3 separate regions of the Homo sapiens genome follow, and all the other regions are linked to region 3. The links are contacts of gene promoters, found by promoter capture Hi-C in human tissues and cell types (Jung and others, 2019). All regions are on one chromosome and are shown on one strand. Each heading gives the region's core, a stretch centred on a gene start or on the middle of the fragment in contact. The rest is flanking DNA. Distances are from core to core; before and after follow the strand shown. Region 1 overlaps PKDREJ (polycystin family receptor for egg jelly). Region 2 overlaps TTC38 (tetratricopeptide repeat domain 38). Region 3 holds the start of CELSR1 (cadherin EGF LAG seven-pass G-type receptor 1).

What was found. The method cuts DNA at HindIII sites, captures the fragments that hold promoters and counts their contacts. A contact is called where the count stands out against the background at its distance.
Region 1: a fragment that was not itself captured here is called in contact with the fragment with the promoter of CELSR1 in region 3 in 1 of the 25 tissues and cell types used here (mesenchymal stem cells).
Region 2: a fragment that was not itself captured here is called in contact with the fragment with the promoter of CELSR1 in region 3 in 3 of the 25 tissues and cell types used here (H1 embryonic stem cells, bladder and thymus).

Annotation. Positions count from the first base shown.
Region 1 is chr22:46,255,651-46,258,350 of GRCh38, forward strand. PKDREJ (polycystin family receptor for egg jelly) reads right to left here. Exons shown (of 1, transcript NM_006071.2): 1 at 13-2,700. The coding sequence ends at 911. Among named protein-coding and RNA genes, the nearest start is that of PKDREJ, 6.3 kb to the right of the region's middle. The HindIII fragment of the contact is 5,387 bases long and covers 1-2,700 here.
Region 2 is chr22:46,276,150-46,278,849 of GRCh38, forward strand. TTC38 (tetratricopeptide repeat domain 38) reads left to right here. Exons shown (of 14, transcript NM_017931.4): 6 at 2,437-2,512. Among named protein-coding and RNA genes, the nearest start is that of TTC38, 9.5 kb to the left of the region's middle. The HindIII fragment of the contact is 6,479 bases long and covers 1-2,700 here.
Region 3 is chr22:46,536,268-46,538,967 of GRCh38, forward strand. It overlaps CELSR1 (cadherin EGF LAG seven-pass G-type receptor 1), which reads right to left and starts at 1,353. Exons shown (of 35, transcript NM_001378328.1): 1 at 1-1,353. The coding sequence starts at 903. The HindIII fragment of the contact is 25,460 bases long and covers 1-2,700 here.

The sequences.
Region 1 (2,700 bases), core at 3-2,502, 280 kb before region 3:
TCACTGCAAGGCTCAAAGAAGAAATCTCACATTTAATTCTGATAAAGCTTAAAGTGGCATCTACATAAATGAACATGCTTCTGAGTGAAAATAGTACAGCTACCAGCCCTTGTTTCTCTTAAGTGATAAACCACATTTTCCTTATTCCTGAATAGTCCAGCACGCTATTAATAACCAAATGCCCAAATCTTAGATGCATATGTTGCTATATTCAGCATATAGACATATTTCAATGTGAACCCATATGTACCTTTTTGTTGTTTAACAAAACATGTCTCTTGGTCAGAAAATGTTACTGAATTTTACTTTAACTACCAGTAGCTTTAAGAATAAATGAGAAGCACCACATCTGCATTCTCAAGCATGAAGCAAGTCCTGGAACTCCCCACGAGGCCCTAAGCCCAGGGGGAACAAGAGGAGGGGAGCCCTGGTCTACAAAGGGGCCTCCCAGTGAGGCCGAGGAGTTTGGGGCTCTGTCAGGAGCAACAGGCCATTAGCTTCCAGCATGGGTCAAGCGCAGAAACACCCAGACAATGCTCCACCCTGGCCAGGTCCCTCTCTCAAATCTGGTTCTCAAAACCAGTGGCTCTGCCTTCTCTAAACTGCAGGCACCAAAGAAACAGGGTTGCCCTTGTACGGGGAGTCACATAACTCCCCTCTAAAGGGAAATCAGTCCAGGAATCCCACACTGTGATCCTGCTGTCTCCCCAGATGCTACACTACACTCCCAACTTTTACACTCCCAAGAGCAGAGGACAAGATTGGGGATTCTTCCAAATGTAGGGGATGTGCCTTGTGAAGGACATGAGTAGAAAGCATGACTAGGCCACTGACACTCCCTAATCCCCTTAATCCCACAGACTCAGCAGTTGGGGGAACGCTTGCTTGTGACTCATGAAACCATCATTCATCAAACAACAAGGTAAACCATTTTCTTCCCGTTGATGTTTCTGGTCTTCAGCCCCAGATAACGGTGGCTGTTCTTCTCTGGCTGCCCATACAGCATGTCAATAAAGAACTCAGGCTCATCTTTGGCCTTAGATTGCGAGGTCAGAAAGCTGAACATGGTTCTCAGCTTACGGCACAAATAGGTCATTGCTTCCACTTCATCCGATGGCTCCTCATACACGGGCTGCTTCATTTCCTCATATGCAGACAGAATTACAGCCTGAAATAAGTTGATCAAGACGCAGATCATCACCAGCATGAAAGATGAGAGGAACAGGACCCCCAGAATCCTGTTATTGGAAAATTCAGTGTTCTGGAAAGCTGAGACACAATAGGAAAATACTGTCTGAGTGGAATGAATCAAGTTACTGTAGTTCCATTCATGCTGACCAAACACCAGGTAACCAAAAGCCATGTATACGAAGAAATACACGGACACAACAAATGCCATGTGGCAGATGCCAGGGAGGGCAGCCTGGATGGCCCTCTGAGCCAGGCGCACATCGTAGAAGAATCTGGAATACCTGAGGGTCTTCAAAATTGTCAGAAATAACAGGAAACCCAAAATTATCCTCATAATGTGATCTACCTGAGAAACTGCATGAAAGGGAATGAAGTCTTCTGGGTTCGACAAGTAAAACCGAATTATGCCAGTGGCCAGGAAATGTTTCCTGAGAAAGAGCACAATCAACACAGTAAATATGCACTTTAAAGCAAAGTTGAGCAAATTATACACACTTCTCACATAGGAGGCTCTTTCTTGCATAATGATACAACCCTCATCAACAACGTAGGCTAAGAAAAAAATGAGAATGGCCACATACAAGTAGATTTCTGCTGAAGCTTTTCTGTCAAAATCAGCAAGTGAAAAAGAGTGCAGAGATATGCTTGTGTTGACAACTCCTAACTGAGAGACTTCAAATATGACCGAAATGCTACAGAACAGATTTATATCTGGATTAAAAGTTGTTAATTCCAAAACCACAGCCCATGTCTTCTCATCCAGCCAATTGCTTTCTTGAAGTTCTTTGAGCCTCAGTGTGGAATTAAACCGCTGCTGTTCTGGAAAAAAATAGAGTGCATATCCTCCAGATCCATAGGTGTGTAGTAGTCCATAGGAATAATATAGCCATTGCGTTCCTTGAGGCTTATAAGTAAATCCATTGGTACTCTCATCTATAGCCTGCTTATCAACTTCATTCCAAAAGCCAGAATAGTTTTTTGTGTCTTCTGGGTCAATGCCATATTTGGGGTGACAATGAATTTCTCTTCTGATGCTGTTTTGCACAAACTTTTCGGCAGGTAGACACATTTTTTCACTAGATTTTGCTCTCACTTGCCTCATCAATGGAAGGCCAAGGATTTTAGACGAGCTTTCAGGAAGAAATGTTGGATTCAGGTCATTGTGTAACAAAGGCAACAGCACGCTGTTTAGCCATCTATAGATGTCTTCCAGCTTAGTCACAGTAGCAAGATCCATAGAGAACCGATCACGAATAAACTGGTTATAGTAAAAGCAGTCAGTGTGACGTAGTAAGACGATAAGGATCAACAGAAGGGCTAGAAAGATAAAGTGAGTTAGAATGTAACTCAGAAACAGGAGTGCTCTTCTCTTGATCCTCTTCTTTCTTTTGAATATTCTGATTTCATCTTCTGTAAGGGGTTGGTACATCCTCGTGCCTCGGATTCGGACGATCTGGTCATGTATCCTCTGCATTTCTTCTGGATGCATACGCATTCCATCCAACCTGA
Region 2 (2,700 bases), core at 68-2,567, 260 kb before region 3:
ATGGAGATTTATTTTAAGGAATTGGCTCATGTGAGTGTGAGGGCTGGCAAGTTCAAAATCTGTAGGGCAGGGCAGCAAGCTGGAAATCGCTGCAGGAGTCAGCATTAGTCTTACATCTGGAGGCAGTCTGCAGGCAGAATTTCTTCTTCTAGGGGCCTCCGTCTTTCTCTTAAGGCCTTTAACTGATTGGATGAGGCCCACCCACATGGAGGGTAATCTGCTTTACTCAAATCGCATCTAGAAATACCTTCACGAGACTGGGCACAGTGGCTTATGCCTGTAATCCCAGCTGTTTGGGAAGCTGAGGCGGTAGGATTGCTTGAGCCCAGGAGTTTGAGATAAGCTTGGTCAACATGGCAAGACTCTGTCTCTACAAAAAGAAAAAATAAATTAAAAAAGTTAGCCAGGCATGGTGGCATGTGCCTGTAGTTCCGGCTACTCAGGAGGCTGTGGCGGGAGGTTCCCTTGAGCCCAGGAGTTTGAGGCTGCAGTGAGCTGGCGATCATGCCACTGCACTCAGCCTGGGCAGCAGAGCAAGACTCTGTATCTAAAAGAATATATATATTAAAAATATATATATTAAAAAAATATATATAAAATACATATATTAAAAATATATATTAAATATATATTAAAATATATATTAAAAATTATATATTAAAATATATATATTAAATATATATATATATATAAACATATATATATATAAAAAATACTTTCACCGCAACACCTAGACTGGTGTTTCGCCAAACAGCTGAGCACCACGGGCCAGCCAAATTGACAGATAAAAATTAACCGTCATGAAACCTAATAGTACCTGACACACAGCAAACATACAATAAATAGCTTAAGTGTTGAGGATTAAATGACCCCAGTAAACAATACATATATATACATACACACACACACACACACACACACACACACACACACACATACATTTTAAAGATAACTCTGGAAGCCAGTGCTTAAGAACATTGCTTCAATGAATAACAAAAGCTAGAATCAGTCTTCTTGCAAAGTAATGAAGCTAACATCTTAGTCTCAAACAGAAGCCCTATTGCCCTATTTTGTTTTCACTTAACCCCGAGAAACCACAGGAAAGAAAACTTGTTTCATGTGTGACCACCCTAGATACTCGGGTGCGCAGTTGCAGATGAGATTGGAAGTGTGGGCGGGACGCAATGGCTCATGCCTGGAATCCCAGCACTTTGGGAGGCCGAGGCGGGTGGATCACCTGAGGTCAGGAGTTTGAGGCCAGCCTGGCCAACATGGTGAAACCCCGTCTCTACTAAAAATACCAAAATTAGCTGGGCGAGGTGGCATGTGCCTGTAATCCCAGCTACTCAGGAGACTGAGGAAGGAGAATTGCTTGAACTCAGGAGGCGGAGGTTGCAGTGAGCTGAGATTGTGCCACTGCACTCCAGCCTGGGCAACAGAGCGAGACTCTGTCTCCAAAAAAAAAAAAAAAAAAAAAAAAGAGAGAGATTGGAAGCGTGCAATTATTCAGCAGTGTCTTCTAGCCCATCCTGGGCTGGGCCTGGGCTGAGGCTGAGTTGGACAGACAGGTCCCAGCCTGTGGGAGCTCCAGGTCTGGGGAGGACCCGGCCATTCACTGAGTGCATTCCAGGCCGGGCAGGGGACTGTGTACAGCACTGCAGAAGTCAAGGAGGAGCTGTTGACAGCCCACAGGTCACGGAGGCTTCCCAGGGAGGTGCCCCTGGGTCATGCCTCTGGGTGGATGTCACCATGCAGACAGGAGCGGGAGGAGACCCTTGTTACTCTCAGTGGAGACCCGTGTTGATTCTTAGAAGGTGGGATGCTAATTGAGGAGCAGGGCCGCTCTCCGTGCTGGGCTTGGGGATGATTGTGCGGATGTAATGTTCACCTTGCCCCTCACCAGTCAGAAGCATGGAATTGCTGACAAGCACAGAGCTTGGCGTGGGGTTGGAGGTTGCATCAGTCTCCTGCGGTTGCTGTAGCGAAGGGCTGCAAACTGGGTGGTTTGGAGCAGCAGACAGGTACTCACAGCTTTGAGGGCCAAGAGTCCCATCTAAGGTGTCAGCAAGGGCAGTGCCCTCAGAGCCTCAGGGGTGGGTCCTTCCTGCCTCTTCCAATTTCTGGTGGTGCCCAGAGTTCCTTGAAGTCCCTTGGCTCGCAGCTGTATCACTCTGCCTTGGTCTTTACCTGCCGCCTTCCCTCGGCATCTGTGTCTTCACACGGCCCTCTTGTAAGGACACCAGTCATTGCGTTAGGGCCCACCCTAATCCCGTATGACCTCCTCTAAACTTATTACCTCTGCAAAGACCCTATTTCCAAAAAAGGTCACATTCCCAGTGCTGGCAGTTAGGACCTCAGTGTATCTTTGCGGGGACACAGTTCAACCTGCTACCCATCCATCATTTTGTATTCTGAGATCTTTTTTTCTGTTTTTAGCTATGTGAAAGGCATCTACTCTTTTGGCTTGATGGAAACCAACTTCTACGACCAGGCAGAAAAACTCGCCAAAGAGGTAAGTGGGTCCTTCCTAAGGTGCCTGACCCCTCAGGGAGTAGCCGTTGGCTGGACCAGGGCATATGAGGGGCACCATTCGTGTGTGACCCCGGCGAACCCCATCCCTGGTCTCACTTCCTCAGAGAGACTGGGGAGCTCATGTTAGTGTGAGCAGCTGCCGCCCGCCAGGGGCTGTCATTCACCTGT
Region 3 (2,700 bases), core at 103-2,602:
GGCAGAGTCGATTCGGAAGTAGCCCCGGGAGCGCTCGTCGAACAGCCCCTCCATGTAATAGCTCACGCGCTCCTCCTCGCCCTCGATGGTGTAGTGCGCGTGCAGCTGGAGGATGAGGGTGCCCGCCGGTTCGTTCTCAAACAACGCCACCTGGTAGTTGGGCATCGGAAACTTCAGGCTCCCTCTGCCGCTCGTGCCCCGCCGGGCCCGTCGCGCCGGCCCCGCCCGGGCTTCGGGCAAGTTCGGCGGCAGGGGCGGCGATGGGGATGGCGACGCGGAGGGCGTCCCCGCGGTGGCGGCCTCCAGCGCCAGTCCCACCCGGACGGCGCCAGCCGCGCGCCGCAGGGCGCACAGCAGACGCAGGCGGACCGAGCCGCCCGGCGGCAGGCAGATGGGACGGCCGGGACAGCGGGGCCTGGGGCGCGGCGGGCAGCGGCAGGCGGGTAAGGTGGTCGGAGCTGCGAGCGCCGAATGCTGCGCGGCCGCGCAGCCGCCGGGGACGGGGAAGCAGAGCGCCCCGCAGAGCCGGGCACCGGTTCCGCAGAGCCGGGCACGGGCTCCGCAGCCGGGAAGGTGCGTGCGCGCCCGCAGGCGGCGGCTCAGCGCCGTCGGGGCACTGCGGGCCACCAAGCGGACTTGCAGCGGCAGCGGGCGCCCCGCGCCCGAGACGCGCCGACGTCCTGCCAGCCGCCCATCGCGGCCCACGTCCAGCAGCTCCCGCGGCGCCCGGGGCGTGCAAGCGGCGCCCACCGCGTAGGTACAGCCGGGCCGGAGGGCGAAGGCGCGGGTCCCGCCGGGTACGCGCGGCTCCCAGGCGGCCGCTCGCAGCCCCATCGCCGGCAGGGCGGCGGCGGCGGCCAGGAGCAGCAGCACGGGCAGCACGGGCGGCGGCGGCGGCGCCATGGCCCGGAGCCCGAGCCCGAGCCGGGCGCCCGAACACAATCCATGCACCCGGCGCGCCTCCGCATCCACCCGGCGAGGCCGGGGAGCGGCTCCCGGGCGCCCGGCCCTCGGGGCGGTCCGCGTCCCGCCTCCCCGGGGGCCCTGGCGGGGACTGTGGGGACCACGCGCCCGGCCTCCCCCGCAGCTTCCACTTCGAGAGCACTTTGCGAAAGTTTGCGAAGTTGGTTTCAAGATGGCTCCTCCGCGCGTCCCGGGAGGGCGCCGCGCATCAACCTGCGGCGGCGGCGGCGGCTCCAGGCGGCTCCAGGTGGCTCCGGCGCGGGCTCGGCCGGACGGGCGTGGGAAGCGGGGCGGGCCCGGCGCGGGGCGGGGGCTGAGTTCCCGGAGCGGGCTGGGCAGCTCCGCGCCGCGCAGACCCCGGCGGCCGGCTGCTGCCTGGGCGGTGCGCTTGGCCCGCGCCCACTCCGCCCGCGCTCTCCCCGCCCCCGGCCCGGCCCCGCCCCGCCCCCGGCCCAGCGGCGTATTGTTCGGCCCCGGGGGGAGCCGGCTCGGAGGTGCGCGCCGAGAGGATCGCTATGGAGACGCGAGGGCGCGGCCGGGACGGGGACTGGGGCCCTACTCCCCGGAGGCCTCCCCACCCAGCCTCCCGGTGGGGCGGGGCCGAGGCAACAGGGCCGGGAAAGGTGGGGCTGGGGCCCCCGGTGGCCGCTACCCGTGGGGCGGTGGCTCCGCACCTCGGGCTCGGGGCCGCGGCTCAGAGCCTGGCTCCCCACCCCGGCAGAACAGATCCACGGAGACCGCCGCCAGGAGTGCCGCGCGGGTAGGACCCGGGGGCGGAGGACTGGGGCCGAGAGGCCGGGGAGCCCCCCCCCACCCATTAAGGACTGCGGAGGCTGTCGAGGAGGGTTACCCATTTTACAGCAAGACGCACGGAGGCTAAAATGCTTCACCCCGACTAAAACTCCCTGGACTTTGAAGCCCAATAGGCAGCTACCGGATCTGCGTCCCACTTGGTTTAAAGCGCAACTTTTAAATGAAAGAAGAAAACCCCGGTTGACATAAGGGATTTGGAGAGGACGGCGGAGGCGCGCTCATCTCCCGCGTGCGGCCCGACCCGAGCGTTCGCGGACGCATCGCGGAATCCCCGAGCGTCCGGCTCCTCCCGAAGCGGGTTGCGGGGAAGGCGGGGGGCTGCGGGTCCTGGAAGCTGCCTGGGGCAAGCAAGCACCCGCAGGGATTTAGAGCTGTGCCACAGCCCCTGCCCAGCCTCCTACGGAGGACAGCGGGGGGCGGGGGGCAGAGACCTTAGAGCTTTCAGAAAAGTGACACACACCCCCGCCTCCTGCGGGGAACCACGGGGGGCCGGGGGCAGCTTTAGGTTTGCGTGACGGGTACACCTGCCTCCGGATGGGGCACAGGGATAAAGGGGGTGGAGGCTTAGGACTTGGCGACCCCCCGCATGGGCGGGGCTTTGGGACTGTGCCACCAGCGGCTGGGAAGGGCGCGCACTCCCTTGGTGGCGCTCGGGGCGCCGGAGTCCAGTGCAGCCCTTAGGCCTCCCAGTGGTCGGGGACGGTAGGTGGGGGTCGCCTCTTCTCTCCTAGAAGGGCTTCTCCTGGGGCCGGTCGGAGCGGTGGGGGTGGGAGTAATGCGCAGTCACCCCTAGAACGGGTCTTTTTGGCAAGGGAGGGTCGGATCCTGCAGCCAAATCTCTGAGCTGAGCTGAGATGAGTCCAGTCTCAACGAGGACCGTGGGCGGCTGTGGAGAACCGGAAGGGTTTCTCCCCCGGAGCGATG